Linked DNA regions of Homo sapiens: all the other regions are linked to region 1. The links are contacts of gene promoters, found by promoter capture Hi-C in human tissues and cell types (Jung and others, 2019). All regions are on one chromosome and are shown on one strand. The core of a region is centred on a gene start or on the middle of the fragment in contact, and the rest is flanking DNA. Distances in the headings are between cores, read along the strand shown. Region 1 holds the start of SHOX2 (SHOX homeobox 2). Region 2 has its middle 210 kb from the start of VEPH1. Region 3 overlaps RSRC1 (arginine and serine rich coiled-coil 1). Region 4 overlaps RSRC1 (arginine and serine rich coiled-coil 1). Region 5 has its middle 260 kb from the start of SHOX2. Region 6 overlaps RSRC1 (arginine and serine rich coiled-coil 1).

Region 1 (3,136 bases), core at 414-2,913:
ACTTAATTGCTTGCTTAAATATGTGATTCCACGCATGCCACATATTTTCTTAATTGGAAAAATATGGCAGTACACCAGTTACTGCAGGCACCAAGTGCCAAATCAATTTTATTGTTGAACTCCTTTGAATTGGTATAGAACGCTCTGCCATTGAGATAAAGACGTTTCCTAACACTGAGCTAGCACCAAAGGATTTTTGCTCTAAGAGAACCGAGTACTGGGTGATTGAAAACACTAAAGGAATTGTGTAAATATAGATCCCCACCTCCCCCGCCGCCCCCCCCCCCCGCCCCCAACACACCAAGAAACCGAAACGCCTCGCCCGGGAGAAGCAGCGTAGCCTGGACCTCAGCTTTCGTTGGCTTCCTTCTACCTTGAAAGAGAATGGGAAGTTTTGGCCCCTAAGATCCAAAGATTCAGGGGCTCTGCGGAGTTCGAGGGGTCTTGGCGGCCCCAAACACCTAGGCGACCGGAGGGTTAAGCTTTCCACCTCTGCCCCTTCTCCCTCCCGGCAAACTCTGCGCTAGAGGCTAGCTTTAGTCCCGCCGTCTGGTTCAGCACCCCCTCCTGCAGCCCGGCCCCGCGAACTTCCACGTCCGCCTGCGGGCCATCCGGGCTGCGGGCCCATCCTCCCGCTGGTGAAAAATGCATTTCGGTGGAATGGGAACATCTGGGAAGGGCGCGCACAAACCCCACACGCTTCCCCCCACGCCACCCCCACAACACACTAGGACCCCACCCATGACCGAGCATACCACCGGACCCCCACCCTTCCACTATCACTCTAGCTGACAAAGCTGGGGTCCAGGGCCCTCTCCGTGTCCCTCTCCCCTCCCCGCTGGGCCTCGGAGTCCTCTCCCGCCCGAGAGGAGTCCGGAAGGCGGGAAGGGGAACCGCTGCCGGGGGTCAGTCAGGTCGTTACCCTCCGTCAGTCGCGGGCTGCCCGGCTCCCTGCTTCTCTCGGCGGCGCCCATGTCCAGCTCCCGGACGGGAGAGCGCCCTCCTCCAGCTCCTCCGCCTGCTCCTCCTCCTCCTACACCTCCTCCGCCTCCTCCGCCGCCGCCTCCGCCTCCTCCGCCGCCGCCTCCGCCGGCCGCCCGGACTGCCGGGCTGCTGCGGTCGTCGCGGCCCGCCTCGGTGCAGCCGGTCGGCTCCTTGGCCCCGCGCAGCGGCCCGCTCTCCAGCACCTCCCGGTACGTGATCGCCTCCTTCTTCTCCTTCACTTTCTGGTCAAAAGACTTGGAGACGAACGCCGTAAGTTCTTCCATCGCCGCCGCACGTCAGCCCGGCGCTCAACCTCTGCCAGCAGAGCCCCGCTCTTTTTTTCCTTCTTCTTTTTTTACTGCTCCAGCCCCCCCAATAATAACACATCAATGGGACAGGAGGTGGGGGAGGAGAGGGAGGAGGAGAAAGAAGAAGAAAAAGAGGAGAAGAAAGAAGAAAGAGGAGGAGAAGTAGAAGGAGAAAAAGAAGTAAGAAGAGGAGGAGGAGGAAGAAGAGGAAGAGGGGGAGAAGGGTGAAGAGGAGAGGGAGGAGGAGGAGGAGAAGAGAAGGGGCGGGGGCTGCCGGAGGGAAATGGGAACTGATGCTTCCCTGCCGGAGCGCGCTTGTTCAATGTTAAGATCTTTGACAATTCTTCCTGCGGAGAGTTCAGATCTGATAGCGACGCTGCGCTTGAAGTCCCACTATTTATACTTCCTAACGGCGGCCTCTTGTTTTGAGTAAATTACCTCCCCTCGCAACTCGGAGTGAGCCCCCTTCCCGGGTAGCAGTCGCGCCTCTACCGGGGGTTGGGGAGGGGAAAAGGAGAGAAACAGAGAGAGAGAGAGAGAGAGAGAGAGAGAGAGAGAGAGAGAGAGAGAGAAGAGGAGAGAGAGAGATTGGAGTTCGGGCGGGCTGGGGCTGGAGTGGTAGGGCAGCACAGGGGGACCGGAGGGGGCGGGGAGAGAAGGCCGGTCCCCGGCCGCTCAGGTTTTCAGATAGCCCCTGCCGCCTGTGCTCTTGGCCATTAATCCAGGATTGACAAGAATCCCTAATTAATTTAATTAGGCGTGGATTTTGCGTTGGTGTCACGACTTAGTTAAACACTGGGGAGCTGGATAGACCCCGCGGGGTGGGGCCAAGAGGAAACTGACAAGTGCGCAGCTCTTAGAGTCAGTCAGGTATCCCGACACTGCATCCTTCCCTACAGCCTTGCTTCGAGTCAGGGTGCCTCGCAATGCTCAGCTTCGCATTGCTTTTCCTCGTCCCTGCCCTGCATCAACCGCCCAGCAGTTTACAGGCCCCGCATCCCATTCCCGCATCCTGACCCCGCATCCCAATTCTGCATCCCCGCCTCTCCCTCACAATCCCACCCCTGCCGGCCGTAGCTCCACCGCCCAGCATCATCCTGCCCAGAGACAGGGTTGCCTGCACCTTCTCCGACCCGCGCAGCTTCTCTTAGGAGCTTCCCGGCTCGCAGGCAGGCTGAGTCCGGGTCTTCTCCAAGCTCCTCGCCCCTCGGTCCGTGTTATTCGCTCTATTATTCGTGTCCTGGAGCCCAGCTGACTCCTCTATGGACAGACCCCGCTAAAAGGGACCAGTCGATTTAACAAGTTTCCCCAGCAGCTGTTAGCTGACAGATCTCATTTTAAAGTGTTTCCTTAGCGCCCGGTCAAGGACAGCTCGACTTCGTTCGTTTCCTCTCTGAGGTCTCAGAACTCCCACCCTTCTCCCTTACTCTCTGCACTCGGACCCCTCTATGGTGAATTACAGGACTTCTTCTTTAGCATCTTGGGAAACATCCGAGTTTATTTACTAATTTGAAAAACAAGAGATTATCCCTCTTCGAGTCTGAAAAAAAAATCGACGTTAAGTTTGTACCCCCTCTAATTTCATTTATTACGGAGAGCTAAAAAAGAGACGCTCGCCAGGAGTAAAGGTCTCTCTGCCTACCCCCCCCACCACCCCGCTTACGATTTAAAATTCTATTTCTGGGCTATTTTCATCGGAACGGTTTGTTACGTTAGAGGAACATCTATATTCCTGAGTCATTTGTCTGTATTGTGCCGGACAGGGCTTGCTGTGAGAAGTGTGGCTATGCAAATACATACTCACAAAAGAATATTTACATATGATGTTATATTTAAGTGTGTAA
Region 2 (3,136 bases), core at 192-2,691, 390 kb before region 1:
CTATTGTATCTGTTATGGTGATTTGTGACCAATAATCTTTGATGTTACTATTGTAATTGTCTTGGAGTGCCATGAACTACATCCATGTAAGATAGTGAACTCAATCAATAAATGTTGTGTGTACTCTAACTGCTCCACTGACTGCCCAGCTCCTGTCTCTCTCTCACTCCTCAGGCCTCACTGCTCCCTGAGACACAACAATATTAAAATTGAGCCAGTTAATAACCCTACAATGGTCTTTAAGTGTTCAACTGAAAAGAGTGGCAAGTCTTTCATTTGAAATCAAAAGCTTAAAATGATGAAGCTTAGTGAGGAAGGCAGGTTGAATGCTAAGATAGGCCAAAAGCTAGACCTCTTGTGCCAAATAGTTAGCTAAGTTGTGAATCCAAAGAAAATGTTCCTGAAAGAAGTTAAAAATGCTACTGACTTTTAATGAACACAAAAATGATTAAAAAAAAAAAAAGTACAGCAGCCTTATTGCTGTTAAGGAGAAAGTTTTAGTGATCTTGATAGAAGGTCAAACCAGCCACAACATTCCTTTAAGCCAAAGACTAATCCAGAGCAAGGCCTTAACTGTTCACTGTTATGAAGCTGAGAGAGGTGAGAAAGTCATGGAGGGGAAGTTTGAAGCTAGCAGAAGTTAGTTCATGAGGGTTAAGGAAGGAAGCTACCTCCATAACATCAAAGTACAAAGCTGGAAGTGAAGTAGGAAGTGCTGATGTAGAAACTGCAGCAAGTTTTCCAGAAGAGCTAGCTAAGATAACTGATGAAGGTGGCTACACTAAACAACAGATTTTCAATGTAGATGAAACAGCCTATTGAAAGAAGATGTCATCTAGAACTTTCATAGCTAGAGAAGAGAAGTCAATGCCTAACCTCAGATCTTCAAACAACAGGCTGACTCTATTGTTAGTAACTAATGCAGCTAGTGACTTCAGTTGAAGCCAATGTCCATTTACCATTCCAAAAATCCTAGTGCCTTAAGAATTATGCTAAATCTATTCTGCCTGTGCACTATAAATGGAACAACAAAACCTGGATGATAGTATAACTGTTTACATGGTTTTCTGAATATTTTAACCCTACTGTTGAGATCCACTGCTCAGAAATAGATGCTTCTCAAAATATTACTGCTTCTTGACAAGGCACCTGGTCACTTAAGGGCTCTGATGGAGATGTACAAGGAGATTAATGTTGTTTACACGCCTGCTAATCCCTCCATTTTACACCTTATGGGTCAAGGAGTAATTTTGACTTTCAAGCCTTATTATTTAAGAAATACATTCTGTAAGATGCCATGAATAGTGATTGCTCTGATGGATCTGGGCAAAGCAAATTGAAATCCGTCTGAGAAGGACTCACATTCGAGATGCATTAAGAATGTTCATGATTCATGGGAGGAGGTCAAAATATCAAGGTCAACAAGCATGTGGAAGAAATTGATTCCAACCCTCACAGATGACTTTGAGAGGTTAAAGACTTCAGTGGAGGAAGTAACTGCAGATGTTGTGGAAATAACAAAAGAACTGGAATTAGAAGTGAAGCCTAAAGATGTGACTGAATTGCTTCAGTCTCATAATCAAATTTGAAGAGCTAAGGAGTTGCTTCTTGTGGATGAGCAAAGAAAGGGGTCTCTTGAGATGGAATCTGCTCCTGGTGAAGATGCTGTAAATATTGTTAAAATAACAACAAAGGATTTCAAATATTACATAACCTTAATTGCTAAAACAGTGGCAGAGTTTGAGAGGATTGACTCCACTTTGGAAAGAAGTTCTACTGTAGGTAAAATGCTAGGCAACACCGTTGCATGCTAAGAGAACTCTTTGGAGAAAGGAAGAGTCAATCAATGTGGCAAACTTCATTTTTGTCTTATTTTAAGAAATTACAACTGCCACCCCAACCCTTTAGCAATCACCACCCTAATCAGTCAGCAGCCATCAACATTGAGGCAAGATCCTCTACCAGCAAAAAGATTACACCTCATTGAGTGCTCAGATGATTGTTGCCATTTCCTAGCAATAAAGTATTTTTTTACTAAGGTATGTACATTGTTTTTCAGACATAATGCTATTGCACACTTAATAGATAGACTACAGCATAAGGTAAACAGACCTTTTATATGCACTAGGAAACAAAAAAATATAGTGTGACTCACTTTATTGTGATATTTGCTCTATTGCAGTGGTCTGGAACCAAATCCACAATATCTCAAAGGCATGCCTGTATGTAGTTCAAGCTTTTGTCACTCAGTCTTTTTATTTACCCACTTCCTCTAAAGCTAGGTGATACAAAAGAAAAATTATTCCAGTGCTCACTCAAATGGCTTGGAAATAAGCTAGAGATTATTTCTCAGTCTATTACATAATAATTACTGTTTTGAAGTGCATAGTATCCATGTCTGTTCCCCATAATGCATTGCTTTTTTCTTTTCTCCAGGTGTACATTGGAACCCAGTCACATGGCCCATAAACAGATCATTTGTTCAAGCACCTTTCCTGAGAATCTAAGTCTTCATTTGACAAGTCTAACACTCTTTTTCAATGACTGCATGATATCACAGTCTGGTTAACACTAAGCTGTAGGTTCCCTAAAGCTAGGATTGTTGTGTGTATGTGTATGTGCATGTGTCCATGCATGTGTATATGTGTGTGTTTAACTACTATCTTTAAAGTAACCTAGGAGTTTATGTCTCCTCTGCTATTTTCAATTTCTAGGCTCTTTGGTATAGACAAAGAGAAATCATTGTCTTTTCCTCACTCCCTTTCAAATCAGATGCAGTTTGGAAGAAAAGTAACAATTATTTTTTAGTCCATGTCCTTTCCAATAATAAGGACAAATATAGAAACGTGTCCTGCTGCTTCATGTAGAATTATTTTAAGCCTATTAAGTAGGCCTATCCAACTTTAATCAGGTACAGACAAGAGCTTGCTGATCTGTGCATTCTGAAATTTCATTGCTCCTACACAAACTCACTGCCTGGAAACAAGGAAGCCTGACACTTGAAGGGCCGTGCTGTCTGACAAACTGGATTAATAATGAATGAACCCATCTTGTATAATCAGAAAGGGGAGGAATGCTACAAATTAGAAATAAGCATGTTTTTTGTTACAGATGGCAGCAGGACGCTGCTTAGGGT
Region 3 (3,136 bases), core at 436-2,935, 300 kb after region 1:
AACTTATATTTGCATATTTTAGATTTTAAGAAATCCTAAAGTAATTCTTTTCTACTTTAACACAGCATCTTCCAGTCTTACTTACAGATCATAGAATTCTTGGGGGCCCAGTCTGAGAAATGCAAGGATTAATGAAAAGAACCCAGACAGACAAGAGACAGCTGTTCTGAATTCTAATCCTGGCTTTGCCTTTCATGGCTTATATGATTTTTACAAGTTAGATAATCTCTCTGGGTCGTAGCTTTCTTATCTGTAAAATGAGGAGATTGTGTAAGAGAGGTTGGGGTTGGTCAGGGAATGATATACAGTGTCCCAAGGAGCTTTTTCAAAATAGGCATTCCACCAGACACTTTTCCCCATACTGAGATTGGCTCTAGATACACCTTCCTCAGCTCGTTCACTGAGCCATTATTAAAACTTATTTTCTCAACCTTCTAACTGATGTATTTAGCTGTCGTTTTTAGAGAGTTTTAGTCACCAGAGACATATGGAAAATATAGCAGTTGTACTTAGAAGTCAAAGAGTAAACATAAGCATGATTTATTACTGCTAAATTTAGTCAACACTGGCATATTGAGCCTCCTGATAAAGGTAACAGGCCATCTAGCCATATAACAGAAATGGTAATGCAGACATAGTCTGATAATTTGCTATCTTGAAAAACACTAACTTATGAACTTATTACTAAAACCTCACGTTATAGCTAAGGAATAAGGAAAGGCAAATAGGCATCGCAGAAAAAAAATGAGCAAATTTAGAGATTTTGTTTACGTTTTATCTCCAGTAATCATTTAGAGTGAATTAAGATCTCTTAGCTTCTTTTAAAAACACTGATGACCTAGGAAAAAATATGTCCTATGCAGGGACATGGCTGCAGCTGGAGACCATTATCCTTAGCAAACTAACACAGGAACAGAAAACCAAATACCACATGTTTTCACTTATAAGTGGGAGCCAGGCCAGGCGTGGTGGCTCGTGCCTGTAATCCCAGCACTTTAGGAGACCAAGGTAGGGGGATCACTTGAGGCCAGGAGTTTGAGACCAGCCTGGCCAACATGGTGAGACCCCCGTCTCTACTAAAAATATAAAAATTAGCTGGACATGGTGGCTCAGGCTTGTAATCCCAGCTACTTGGGAGGCTGAGGCAGGAGAATTGCTTGAACCCAGGAGGCAGAGGTTGCAGTGAGCCGAGATCACGCTACTGCACTCCAGCCTGGGCAACAAGACAAGATTCCGTCTGAATAATAATAATAATAATAATTAATAAAATAAGTGGGAGCTAAATGATGAGAACACACAGACACGTAGAGGGGAACAACAGCACACACTGGGGCCTATTGGAAGGTGGAGGGTGAGAGGAGGGATAGGATCAGGAACAATAACTAATGGATACTAGGCTTAATAGGTGGATGGTGAAATAATCTATACAGTAAACCCCCAGGACACAAGTTTGCCTGTGTAACAAACCTACACACATACCCTGAACTTAAAAGTTTAAAAAATGCTGCATTTGAATTCACAAAATGCAAAGTGAGAGCAACTAGAGGGATATAAAGAGTCCAGCAAGTCACAAATATAGGTATACACAAAACTTGTTAGAGGAGCAGTTGAACAGAGAGGGACATAATGTTTTGTTATATTTGTTGTTTCTTGATTTTATTAAATCTATTTATTTTCTTTATTTGCTTTATTTTTCTTTATCACATTCACCACTCCCTAACATTGTATTTTATGTCTGATTAGTGGGTTAGCCTCAGGCTTTCTTACTAGAAAGTGAGCTCCCTAAAAGCAGGAATTTTGCCTATTTGTTCAATAACATGTCCCCCATCCTAGAAGACTGACTGGCACATGGTAGGTGCTCATTAAACTTACAGTCTCCTGAGAGCTATTGCCTATTATCACCAAAGAGAGTTTTGTGATATGAACTGTGCTTTAGGATGATAACTTTGTTGGGGTCAGAAGGTTAATGATGAGTTGTGCTGTGAATGAGATGATGAAAGCAAAAATTAGAAAAAACCATTAGAATAATAAAAGAGGGCATATGAAAATCTGTAAATCGGATCCTATTAATCTCCTGCACTGAACCCTTCAATGGCTTCCATCTGCCCATAGGATACAATTTCAGAATTCTTTTTTTTTTAGTAAAAGAGAATGATTTATCTGTTCAATTGTCATTTGATATAAGTGATAGCATTTAGAACACAATTCTAGGAAACATTTGTGAAAGGATATAGGAAAGTTTTACAGTCATAGTCTCATACATTCAAACAAAATCACAGTAAAATGGTTTCTTAACAGAATTGTAATGAAGTTACTATTTTTTAAAAAAAGCGGGCAATTTTCTTTGTTCATTTGTTTATTAATTCAGCTATTTGTTGTTACCTACTGGAATTCTTAATATAGCTACAAGCTTCCATGGTTTGCTCATGTCTACTTCTCCAGTCTCATCCTGGACCACTCTAACCCATTGGCTTGCTTTTTTAGTTCCTTGGTTTGTACCTGTTTTTCCATCTACCTGAAATACTTACCTCTTCCCTCTCTCCCAGATGAATTTAGGCTTATTATTAAAGTTTCAGCTTAAACTTTATATCTCAGTGAAACATTCCTGACACCTAACACTAGGTTATAACAGCTTCTCTCAAAGCATCACAAACTTCTTTCATAGTAATCAACAAACTTTTTGATTTAAAATGATTTTCATGATTGTCTGATGTTTCTCTCTCACGACTTTTATGGTAAAAAAATAAATAAGACTTTTATGGTCAGACCGTATCTGTTTTGTATACCATGTCTTCAACACCTAGCATAGTTCCTAGCATATAGAAGGTGCTCAAAAAGTATCTAGCTATCTAGCTGTCTATCTCTATCATCTATCTTTGTAAAAATCTTTCAACTCTTGTAATTTCAGCTATTCAGCATTTATAATTGCCCTTAGGATTTTTTTCTGATGCTTTGTAATATGAACTATAACTCAGAGAAAAATAGATAAATGTATAGTTCACCAAATTATTATAAAGCAGTATTATAATAGAATATATAATATTATAAAGCAATTATTGTAAATCAGTACTTGTGTTACACCATCCAGATCAACAAACACTTTGCCAGCACCTCAGAAGCCCCCATCTTCTGATAG
Region 4 (3,136 bases), core at 236-2,735, 280 kb after region 1:
TTAAATGTTTTCATTTGCTCATGTTTTCTTTGTTGACCCAAATGAATGAAATTAGAATAAACAATCTCTAAGTCATTTGTAATCATGAGCTGATTAATGGAGTTTGGTTTCATAGCCATTATTCATTCACGAACACCTGATATCTTTCCCATAAACAAATTGTGTTTGTCCAAATTAAGAAATTAAATGAAGCATTTGATGAGTTTATGATTGACCCTTCTAACTCAGAGCCCATTAGTCATTGTCGTTATCATAGAAAACTCTTTGACTAATGTGCTGTCTAAAGAAGCATGTGGATTTATTATGACTTCTGATTAATGCTTGCTGCAAGCCAAACTACTAGATTATAATAATTTTTTGATTCTCATTTTAGCAGTCATTGAAGAATTTCATCTCTGATGAAATGCGTTTATGTCCCATTAGATTTAGGGATGATTACAAGTTATTGAGTGGATAAATTTTTAAGGTATTATATGTTTTAGAAAACATACAGTATATGCTTTAAAAAAAGGCATTTTTTAAAAAAGCTGTTTTTTGTCTTTTAACTTTGTGGACATCATCTTTCCCTTTTAAGGTAATGAGCCTATTATTTAGATTTTATGAACTAGTACTTATTAATTTATTAAGAAATTTAAATAGGAGAAGTACATGTATGAATTTATAACACTTGAAGTTCAACTTATCAATTTAAAATATTTATTTTAAAATTGTATGTAATCTTGTTTAATACATTTTAGTTTTGACAACAAAGTAAATCCCTCTTTGCCCAATTTATTCTCATTATAAAGTAAGAACAAGATTTCCACCTTAAAAAAAGCTCTTTAATAGACGAATATAGCTAAACCACTGTTAACGTAGGTCTTGTAGTGAGATACCTGCTAGAGGCTATATTATATGACCAACACACTATTATTATGAAACTAAGGACCTCAATATGGCCAAGCTGTTGTTTAATTTGTATTGGGGGGAAAAGGCAGTTTAAAAGATGGAAACATTGATTGACTTTCATCAGAATCCATGTTATTAACAGAGTTTACAAGGCAGAAATGTAGGGTTTATAGTCTTTGTTGTTAAGTAAATTGACTTATATGCCTCTTAAAATGGGGAAGAGGTGAGCAGCATGCATGTTCACAGGACCATAATGTGAGTCGTATTCACTAGACCAAAAAAAAAAAAAAGATAATTTTATTACGTATTATTGCAAAATCATCGAAAAGAATGGCTTTATTGCCCATGGTAGTACATGGAAATAAAATGAATATTTTGAGCAGACAACAATGAAATAAGAAACATTTTATTTTAAAAGAAATTCCATGAAGTACATACCATTTCTTGTTTTATATAACAAAATACTGTGTAATATAACCCGAAGTCACATGTGAAATTACATTTCTTTGTGACATTTTCATTAAAAAAAAAGTGGTTGGTTTAGTTACAGTTTTCCAGATATGACCTCTGAGTAATTAGGGAAATATCTGCCTCTATATATGTCTCAAATACAAATATAAGGATTATCTTTGATAAACCTGTCTCATTTCTCTGAGTACTACAGGCAATTAAGAGCCATTCAGTCACGTTTAATTATAAAACCTTCTGGTCAGAGAAGTTTCCTATCTCCCTTTGGGATTTATCTATGGCATTAGGTTCTGGACTACTCCAACTTTTGGCCTGGAATACTGATCAAGCAATTTGGGAACTTTAAAAAGGACCAGTATAATCAAGTGAATACTGGTTGCTTAGTAAGAGACAGAAACAGCCTATCAGTCAAATAATAGTGGTAACATTTAGCCTTAGAGTAGTTCCTTTAGCTTATTAAATAAAAAAATTAAGTCAACTAGAATGCATAACATAAGTATGAACCATCCACACCAAATTCATTGGTCATCTACAGTATTTGCACTTAAAATTCCATAGTTTTTCACTGGACTCAGTGCCTTAATATCTTTGTTAATAATTTAAACTACTGTGAAATAAAGGGGAAAAACTGTAAATCCTTACAAGTATTGGTATGGTTTACATTCCAGATCCAGACAAAATATCATGAAAACCTTTTAGTGTGTGACCAAGGATAAGATTTAGTTGGAGAAGAAAGGGTCATTTTTCCTTCTTGTATCATTATTTTTAAAACGTTTGCTTTAAAAAGAAATCATAGTTTGATGCATAGAATGTTTTGTGAAATGAGTCTTCTCAATATAGCTGGCTTTTTATCCTCACTAGAGGTTCTTAAGGCATCTCAGTGACAAACGCACACATGCACATATACTGAAAATAGACATGGTGATAACAAAAGGAATGCACAGAAGCATAATCTATCATTTTTGGCAGGCTAAGAAAGTTGGTTTAATGTACTGGAAGTGTCAAATAAGTATCAAGAAGTAATAAATGAAATTAATAACTAGATTAGAAAAACTTATTTACCTAGTGCAATATTCCAGTTGTTGATCTTTGTAAGACATTGGCTGACTGCTATGGAAGCTTTCTTTATTCATTTGAATATATATATATTTTATCAAACATTAATATTATATAAAATTTTATAAATGGATTTATTTTCTTGTTTCCATTATAAAATGGGAGCTAAATTATTTTTAAAAATTGATTCTTAGACATAATGAGATTATTTTTAAATAACTTTTTAAACATATTTATGGAAAAATAATCCTTGATATATTAACAGTAATATTACTTTATGTTGTGTGTACTGTAACCATTTTCAAGATATCACCCTTTACATTATTTCATGATTCCCATATACTCTTATGAAATGAGCAGTGCATGTACTAATATTCCCATTTTAAACATGAGGAAATGAGGCTTAGAGAAGTTAGGAAACTTGTCAAAAATTTCATTGTTTACAAACAGCAATATAACTAGGACCCTAGGTAATAAAAGTAGGTCTGTTTTGACAATTTACCAGGCATTTGGGGAGCCAAATTAGCCGTGTTTTTTGTTTTTTTTTTTTTTTTGAGACTGAGTCTCGCTCTGTAGCTCAGGCTGAACGCAGTGGCGAGATCTCAGCTCACTGCAAACTCCGCCTCCCGGGTTGACGCCATTCTCCTGCCGCAGCCTCCAGGGTAGCTTGCACTACAGGCACACGCCACCATGCCCAGCTAATTTTTTGTATTTTTAGTAGAGA
Region 5 (3,136 bases), core at 388-2,887, 260 kb before region 1:
TTTCTAAAGATTATTTCTTTCATGTAGCCTAGACCTTATGAGATAACTTCTTTAAGCAGTTCTTTTTGTATGATTAAGGTTCATAAACTTCCTTGGGTAAAAATGAGAAGAGATTATTTTAAGTCTCATCCTTTTTGTCTCTTGAAAAAGTCACCTAAAAAATTGAGGCCAACTTTCCATAAAGCTGTTATAAAAGGCAGTGGAGAAGCCAGCTTTCTCTAGGGACTTATCCAATTACACGAACTGCGTGGTCTTACCCTAAGAGACAGGAGAATTCAAAATTGTGTTTCTCTGATTGTGGCAGAGAGTGTAAAGGGAGAAATCTAAGAAATTCAATTATCTCCCTAGGTGTCACTCAGCTTTGGGACTAATATAATTGGCTATAAATAATATGAGCACATATCAGGCAGAACCTCTGCGGGTTTCATTACAAATACCCTTGTCACTGAGTTGCTAACAACTGGGCTTGCCATGTGGGTGAGTGGGGGTTGCAACTGCAAAGAGATTACTTTGCCAACCACTGGTTTTCCTCATTTTCATGGTCTTCTTTACATATTTTAATTAATGTCCCAAATGTAACATTTTAAGTATGTATTGCCTTTTCAGCACACACCAAAATGACCTTTTAAAGTAACTGTTTAAAATCCAAGGCAATGTTTGATTACCAACTCAGTACTCCATAGCATAACGTTTCTCTTTTTCATGCTCCTGAAATTTAATGGAGTTGTGCAATAGCAGGGGATATGAGTATGAATGGTTAATGTAACAGAATTCTCATTTTCAAAGCATTGTGCTAGAGGCCCATTCTGACTGTCTGTGTGGGGATTTCCCTTGACCACATTCCAGTAAAGACTTCCTAGCTGTGAAAAGGGGAAAACTTTGGCTCTCTACTTTATTGATAGCACACAGTAGGCAATTAATACAATTTGCTATTTTTATCCTAATTAAGCCTGTGAAAACCAAAACATGTTGATAGAATGTTTGAACAGTGCCACGAAGGATGAGGGTTTTGTAACCATGCCCACATGGATGGGCAAGCCCATATGTATTTTGAAGTCACCAGTGTTCCAAAGGGTTTTTCAAATGTTTTGAGTTTAACCAAACCCTAAACACATTGTGCCAAGTACTATTTTCCTTTAAATTTCAAACCCATGTGAATTTTAAGGGAAATTAAATCCACATGTTTCTGATTCGTTTTTACTTAAATCATTAAAATGCTGTTTTGGACGAGCCATTTGATTTCCAAGAAGCTTTCCTTCACAAACTCCTTTATGCCTTTTTGGTGTGGGGTCAAAAACAGGAAGTCATACTTTGACAATGATAAATTAATTGTGACATCAAACAGTGCAAATCCAAACCCTAGCACTCTAACAATATTCAGCAGTTGACAGATTCATTTTCCTAATTTTATGTCAGGAAATGCTTGCATTTTTCCTTATTTTCCCAGCATAATTTAAGAAGCAAACTATCTCACCTACAACCACTAGGCTACAGAGAATCCATATCTGGAGTTTTACTGATTTTGCAAAATGAGGCAGCAGCATTATTTTGCAGCTCCATTCAATGTAGACAGTCTTATCCAAGGAAAAGTTAGAAAATACACACAAATTCATCTTCCTTCATCCAGGTTTAACTATCCTGAGTAAGCTGTCTTATAAACGTCATGCAAAACCTTAGAGGAAGTTACCTAGGATATGGCAAGGAAAATAGTCATCATATCGTGAGTCTCATCTCAATCTGACTCTTGATTTCATATTTCCCATTAAGCCCCCTCTCCCCGAGTATTCCCTCTTAAATACCTTTTATTCCTTCCCATCACCTCTAACTATTTATTTATTTATTTATTTATTTATTTATTTATTTTGAGATGGAGTTTCGCTCTTGTTGTCCAGGCTGGAGTGCAATAGCGTGATCTCGGCTCACTGCAAACTCTGCCTCCCAGGTTCAAGTGATTCTCCTGCCTCACCCTCCCAAGTAGCTAGGATTACAGGTGCCCGCCACAACCAGCTAATTTTTTTGTATTTAGTAGAGATGAGGTTTCACCATGTTGGTCAGGCTAGTCTCGAACTCCTGACCTCAGATGATCCACCCGCCTCAGCCTCCCAAAGTGCTGGGATTACAAGCATGAGCCACTGCGTCCGGCACCCTCACCTCTAACTTTAAACTTCACATGCCTTCCCCATCCTTTGGAAAAAAAGAAAAAGAAGAGAAACACTTGGCCTAGTAGCCTCCTCTAGCCATCTTCATGCATCATTCTTTTCTTCTACTCCCAAACTTATAAAACTTAATCTCACTGATCAGCTCTCCTTTCCACCACTGTCTTCTTAACATCTTACTGATAATGTCCAAATCTATGTTTTTAGTGTCAATCTTGAATAGTTACCAAACAATCCCACTTGAATATTTTGCCAAACTTTACTTGATGAAAATTTATACAAAACTTATCCCCTACTGATGAATTCCCCATTTCTATGAGTGTTACTGAGCTTGAAGCTACTTTGTCACATGTCTAGCCAGTAACCATTTGTTGGTAATTTGGTGCAATAATGCAACTTCATTCTCCCCATCCTTTTCATCTCCACCACTCAGCCCTTCACCACCTCTTAATTGTGCCTACTGAATGATCTGTTTGTCTCTAGTTTCCCTTCTGATTCCAGGCTATACTGGCCAACAGATTAATCTTTCTGAAATGCTTGTTGCTGATTTAACTCCCCTATTTGAGAAGGTCATGGTTCCCTGCTGCCAACAGAACAAAGTTTAAATGTCTTAACCTTGCATACTTAAAGTGGTTAAACACTCTGTATAATCTGATTATAACCTAAAGGTTTATGAATTCTCTCTTTAGGGTTAACTGATCAACTAATTGTTCCCTGAACATAATTTGTCCTGTCTGCCACCTTCTGCCTTCCCTCCATTCTGCCCCTAAATCTTACCTATTCAATAAGATCCATTCATCCTCATCCATGAGGCTTTCCCAGATTAGGCTTTCCCAGGAAAAATATTCTCCCCTCCTTTATATTCATAGTCCTATTTTCTCTATTATAATAATTTACCTGCCCATACTTTTCATAGTATTCTGAATTTGTTGTTCTTTTCACACAGTTATGTCTTATGTTCATAACTACACTTTAAATTT
Region 6 (3,136 bases), core at 174-2,673, 260 kb after region 1:
CAAGATTTCCACATCTTTTCCCTGACCATTCCAGTACCTAATGTTTCTCTCCTCATTTGAATTCTTTTAGTCCTGTCTTTGCACACCATTTATATTGATGTTGATTCATACACTGCTGATATTAATATTTAGTTGTTTCATGAATGTTATACTTATTTTTCCAATGAAATAAACTTCCAAAGGTCAGGAACTGTATATTTATCCAGACATGGTGGCTCACTCCTATAATCCCAGCACTGTAGGAGGCCAAGATGGGAGGATCATTTGAGCCCAGGAGTTCGAGACCAGCCTAGGCAACATGGTAAAACCCTGTCTCTACAAAAAAATACAAAAATTAGCCAGGCATGGTGGCACATGCTTCTGGTCCTAGCCTCTTGGGAGGCTGAGGTGGGACATTGCTTGTGCCCGAGTGAAGTCAAGGGTTCCGTGAGCTGTGATTGCGCCACTGCACTCCAGTGTGGGTGACAGAGTAAGACCCTGTCTCAAAAAAAATAGAAATTACATTTAAAACTTCTACATCTTTCCCAGCAGTTTTAACAATACCTATAGTAGTACTACATCAGAGAACATTTTAGCTGTTAATCTTTTGTAAGTAAGTCATTGTAGAGAAACAGAGGATCTAGCTGTCTGAAAAACATTTAGATGCTGATGTGCTCATTTTAACTGCTGTTTGATGGATTTTATAATAAATATACTAAGATGTTACCTAGCTTCAAAAGCAGAAGATATATGACATAACCTGACTTTTTACACTTAAACTTTAAGACAGCGCTTGACAGAAAAGACAGTAAAACATGATTATTTCACAGGGGATGGAGGGAAAACAGGAAGTTTAGGTAAGGACTCCTTTGTCTCCATCACTTTTGCTGTTGCCTTTGTTTGTCTTGATAGCCCCATTCCAAACATTATCTAGATTTTCTGCAAAAACGTATTATCATCTTATCCCAAATGTGTCCATGGGTCTAAAGAATTTAGAAGAGAGATTTTTCCAAAAGATATTTTTTATCAGTATGAGAAGACAATACCTGTAACACAATTTTCTTTGAAGCCTTCTCAATATTTTACTTTTAATAGAATTGACACATGCACCTTTAAAATTATATTTCTAATGTTATAAGAAAAGATAGAAATTTCTTTTTGTACATATGTGGTAAAACAACTTATAAAATCTCTGCATAACAGTATTTCATTTTCTGCATAGTATCTACAACCTTTGGATTGTACCTTATAGTTTTCAAAGCACTTTAATAAATCTTTATCTTTTGACTCATATCACTGCATGGAGAGTTAATTAGGTCCAGTTTACAAGTATTCTGAAAGCTTAAATGACTTGTAAAAAGTTACAGAGCTAATAAGTGATAGAATCAGGACTTAACTCCAGTGATTTCTGACTCTCCAGCTACTTTTTTTTTCTTTTTTTTTTTTTTGACATAGTCTTGCTCTGTCACCCAGGCTGGAGTACAGTGGCACAAGCTCGGCTCACCACGTCCTCTGTCTTCTAGGTTCAAGAGATTCTCCTGCCTTAGCCTCCCAAGTAGCTGGGATCACAGGTGCGCACCACCACACCCAGCTAATTTTTTGTATTTTTGGTGGAGACGGGGTTTTACCATGTTGGCCAGGCTGGTCTTGAACACCTGACCTCAAGTGATCTGACCGCCTCGGCCTCCCAAAGTGGTGGGATTACAGGCGTGAGCCACCATGCCCAGCCCTCGAGCTACTTCTAATTCATAAGTTAAATACCTGAGTTATGTTAGGCAGAAAGGCAATAGATAATATTACAAAATGCATAACCTTATTCTATAAGACTTCCTTCTACAATTATCTTAAAATAAAATAATTTCTATCCTCAAGTAAGCCTCTGATTCTGAAGTAAGTTTTCTTATTGATACCACAAAGGGATTAAAGCATCATTTAGGAACAATAAGTTATTTTCCTTGACTATGTAGAGTGTTTATAGTAGCTAAATTTATAACTTTGAAAAATCTAAAGTAATGTTTTATGATTTTTTTCTAACACCTAGCTATGGAAGTGAATTTTAGGGACCCTTCCTAGGAGAGAAACTGGTTAAGTGTTATCAAAACACAGATCAGTTATACATACTGTATCCAAGTAATAAGCTTTGCTGAGTAGTACGCCATAAGTGCCTCACCCCATCCCAATTTTTCTGCAGCCTGTTAAACTGAGATTTTATTCTCTTAGTTGCCTATTAAGTACCTGGAAGCCAAGTCCTGACCCTTTCTCTTCATAGCCATGTGATCCTTAGGACTCCCAACACTTCTCTAAAGTCCGTTGTAGTGTTAAATATGTGTAATTCAAAGAATTACAAATCAGATTGCTTTGATAATGTTGTACTGTTTCCGGGGAGCATAGAAAGCTGCTCTGCTTTACCCTGATCTAAAGCTGAAAGAGGTTTTGTCTGTAGGTTTCTGACCACTCACTATCTATGGCTCCGAGAAATAGTACTGATTTATTGTGAGAGAGCCTTTCATGTTAGGGCAAACCCCCCAAAAAGAGCAGGAGATTGAAACGTTTATTTTTATTTCATATAAATAGTTTACAGACTTCTTTTTTCCCCTATATAGGCTTATGCTTGATTGTGTTTTGGTAGTCCAGATTTATATTGTTTCACTAACAAACTGTGAGCTTGAGCAGATCACTTTTTATTTACTGTCCTGTAGTTTCCTCATCTGTAAAACAGAGATACTAATAGTACATAACTAATGGGTTGTTGTTATGGATTTCAATGAGTTAGTATTTATAAAACACTTAGAGCAGTACCTGATACATAGTAAGTATTCAGTTAATGTTAGCAGTAAGTATGAAAGACAATATTGTATGGTGGTGAAGTCCTCAAGTCAGGGGGCTTGGGTGCCATTCCTAGCTCTCATCTTTACTGATGAAACCATAGGAAAATTGTTAAAACCTGCTGAGCTTCAGTTTTTTATTTACAGAATGGGAAAAATAATAATAATAATAATAATAATAATAATAATATGTACCTTGTAGAGATTTATAAATAAATTAATTTAATAAAGTCTATAGAGAGATTGGGAATGGGAATTATAATAATGTGTACCTTATAGAGATTTATAAATAATTTAATAAAGTCTTTAGCAGCTAGCATATAACTGAGCAT

Evidence for each region. The method cuts DNA at HindIII sites, captures the fragments that hold promoters and counts their contacts. A contact is called where the count stands out against the background at its distance.
Region 2: a fragment that was not itself captured here is called in contact with the fragment with the promoter of SHOX2 in region 1 in 1 of the 25 tissues and cell types used here (dorsolateral prefrontal cortex).
Region 3: a contact is called between a fragment that was not itself captured here and the fragment with the promoter of SHOX2 in region 1, in 1 of the 25 tissues and cell types used here (lymphoblastoid cells).
Region 4: a fragment that was not itself captured here is called in contact with the fragment with the promoter of SHOX2 in region 1 in 2 of the 25 tissues and cell types used here (lymphoblastoid cells and small bowel).
Region 5: a fragment that was not itself captured here is called in contact with the fragment with the promoter of SHOX2 in region 1 in 2 of the 25 tissues and cell types used here (heart left ventricle and lymphoblastoid cells).
Region 6: a fragment that was not itself captured here is called in contact with the fragment with the promoter of SHOX2 in region 1 in 3 of the 25 tissues and cell types used here (IMR-90 fibroblasts, lymphoblastoid cells and mesenchymal stem cells).

The regions. Positions count from the first base shown.
Region 1 is chr3:158,104,757-158,107,892 of GRCh38, forward strand. It overlaps SHOX2 (SHOX homeobox 2), which reads right to left and starts at 1,664. Exons shown (of 5, transcript NM_001163678.2): 1 at 923-1,664. The coding sequence starts at 1,268. RefSeq lists a silencer at 1,054-1,103 and an enhancer at 1,852-2,355. The HindIII fragment of the contact is 9,488 bases long and covers 1-3,136 here.
Region 2 is chr3:157,711,117-157,714,252 of GRCh38, forward strand. No RefSeq gene overlaps it. Among named protein-coding and RNA genes, the nearest start is that of VEPH1, 210 kb to the left of the region's middle. The HindIII fragment of the contact is 3,724 bases long and covers 1-3,136 here.
Region 3 is chr3:158,407,793-158,410,928 of GRCh38, forward strand. All of the region lies in intron 6 of RSRC1 (arginine and serine rich coiled-coil 1), which reads left to right. Among named protein-coding and RNA genes, the nearest start is that of UC.134, 120 kb to the right of the region's middle. RefSeq lists an enhancer at 2,897-3,136. The HindIII fragment of the contact is 7,910 bases long and covers 1-3,136 here.
Region 4 is chr3:158,385,663-158,388,798 of GRCh38, forward strand. The region is part of intron 6 of RSRC1 (arginine and serine rich coiled-coil 1); the gene reads left to right. Among named protein-coding and RNA genes, the nearest start is that of UC.134, 140 kb to the right of the region's middle. The HindIII fragment of the contact is 5,653 bases long and covers 1-3,136 here.
Region 5 is chr3:157,844,195-157,847,330 of GRCh38, forward strand. No RefSeq gene overlaps it. Among named protein-coding and RNA genes, the nearest start is that of SHOX2, 260 kb to the right of the region's middle. The HindIII fragment of the contact is 4,143 bases long and covers 1-3,136 here.
Region 6 is chr3:158,361,857-158,364,992 of GRCh38, forward strand. The region is part of intron 6 of RSRC1 (arginine and serine rich coiled-coil 1); the gene reads left to right. Among named protein-coding and RNA genes, the nearest start is that of UC.134, 160 kb to the right of the region's middle. The HindIII fragment of the contact is 5,175 bases long and covers 1-3,136 here.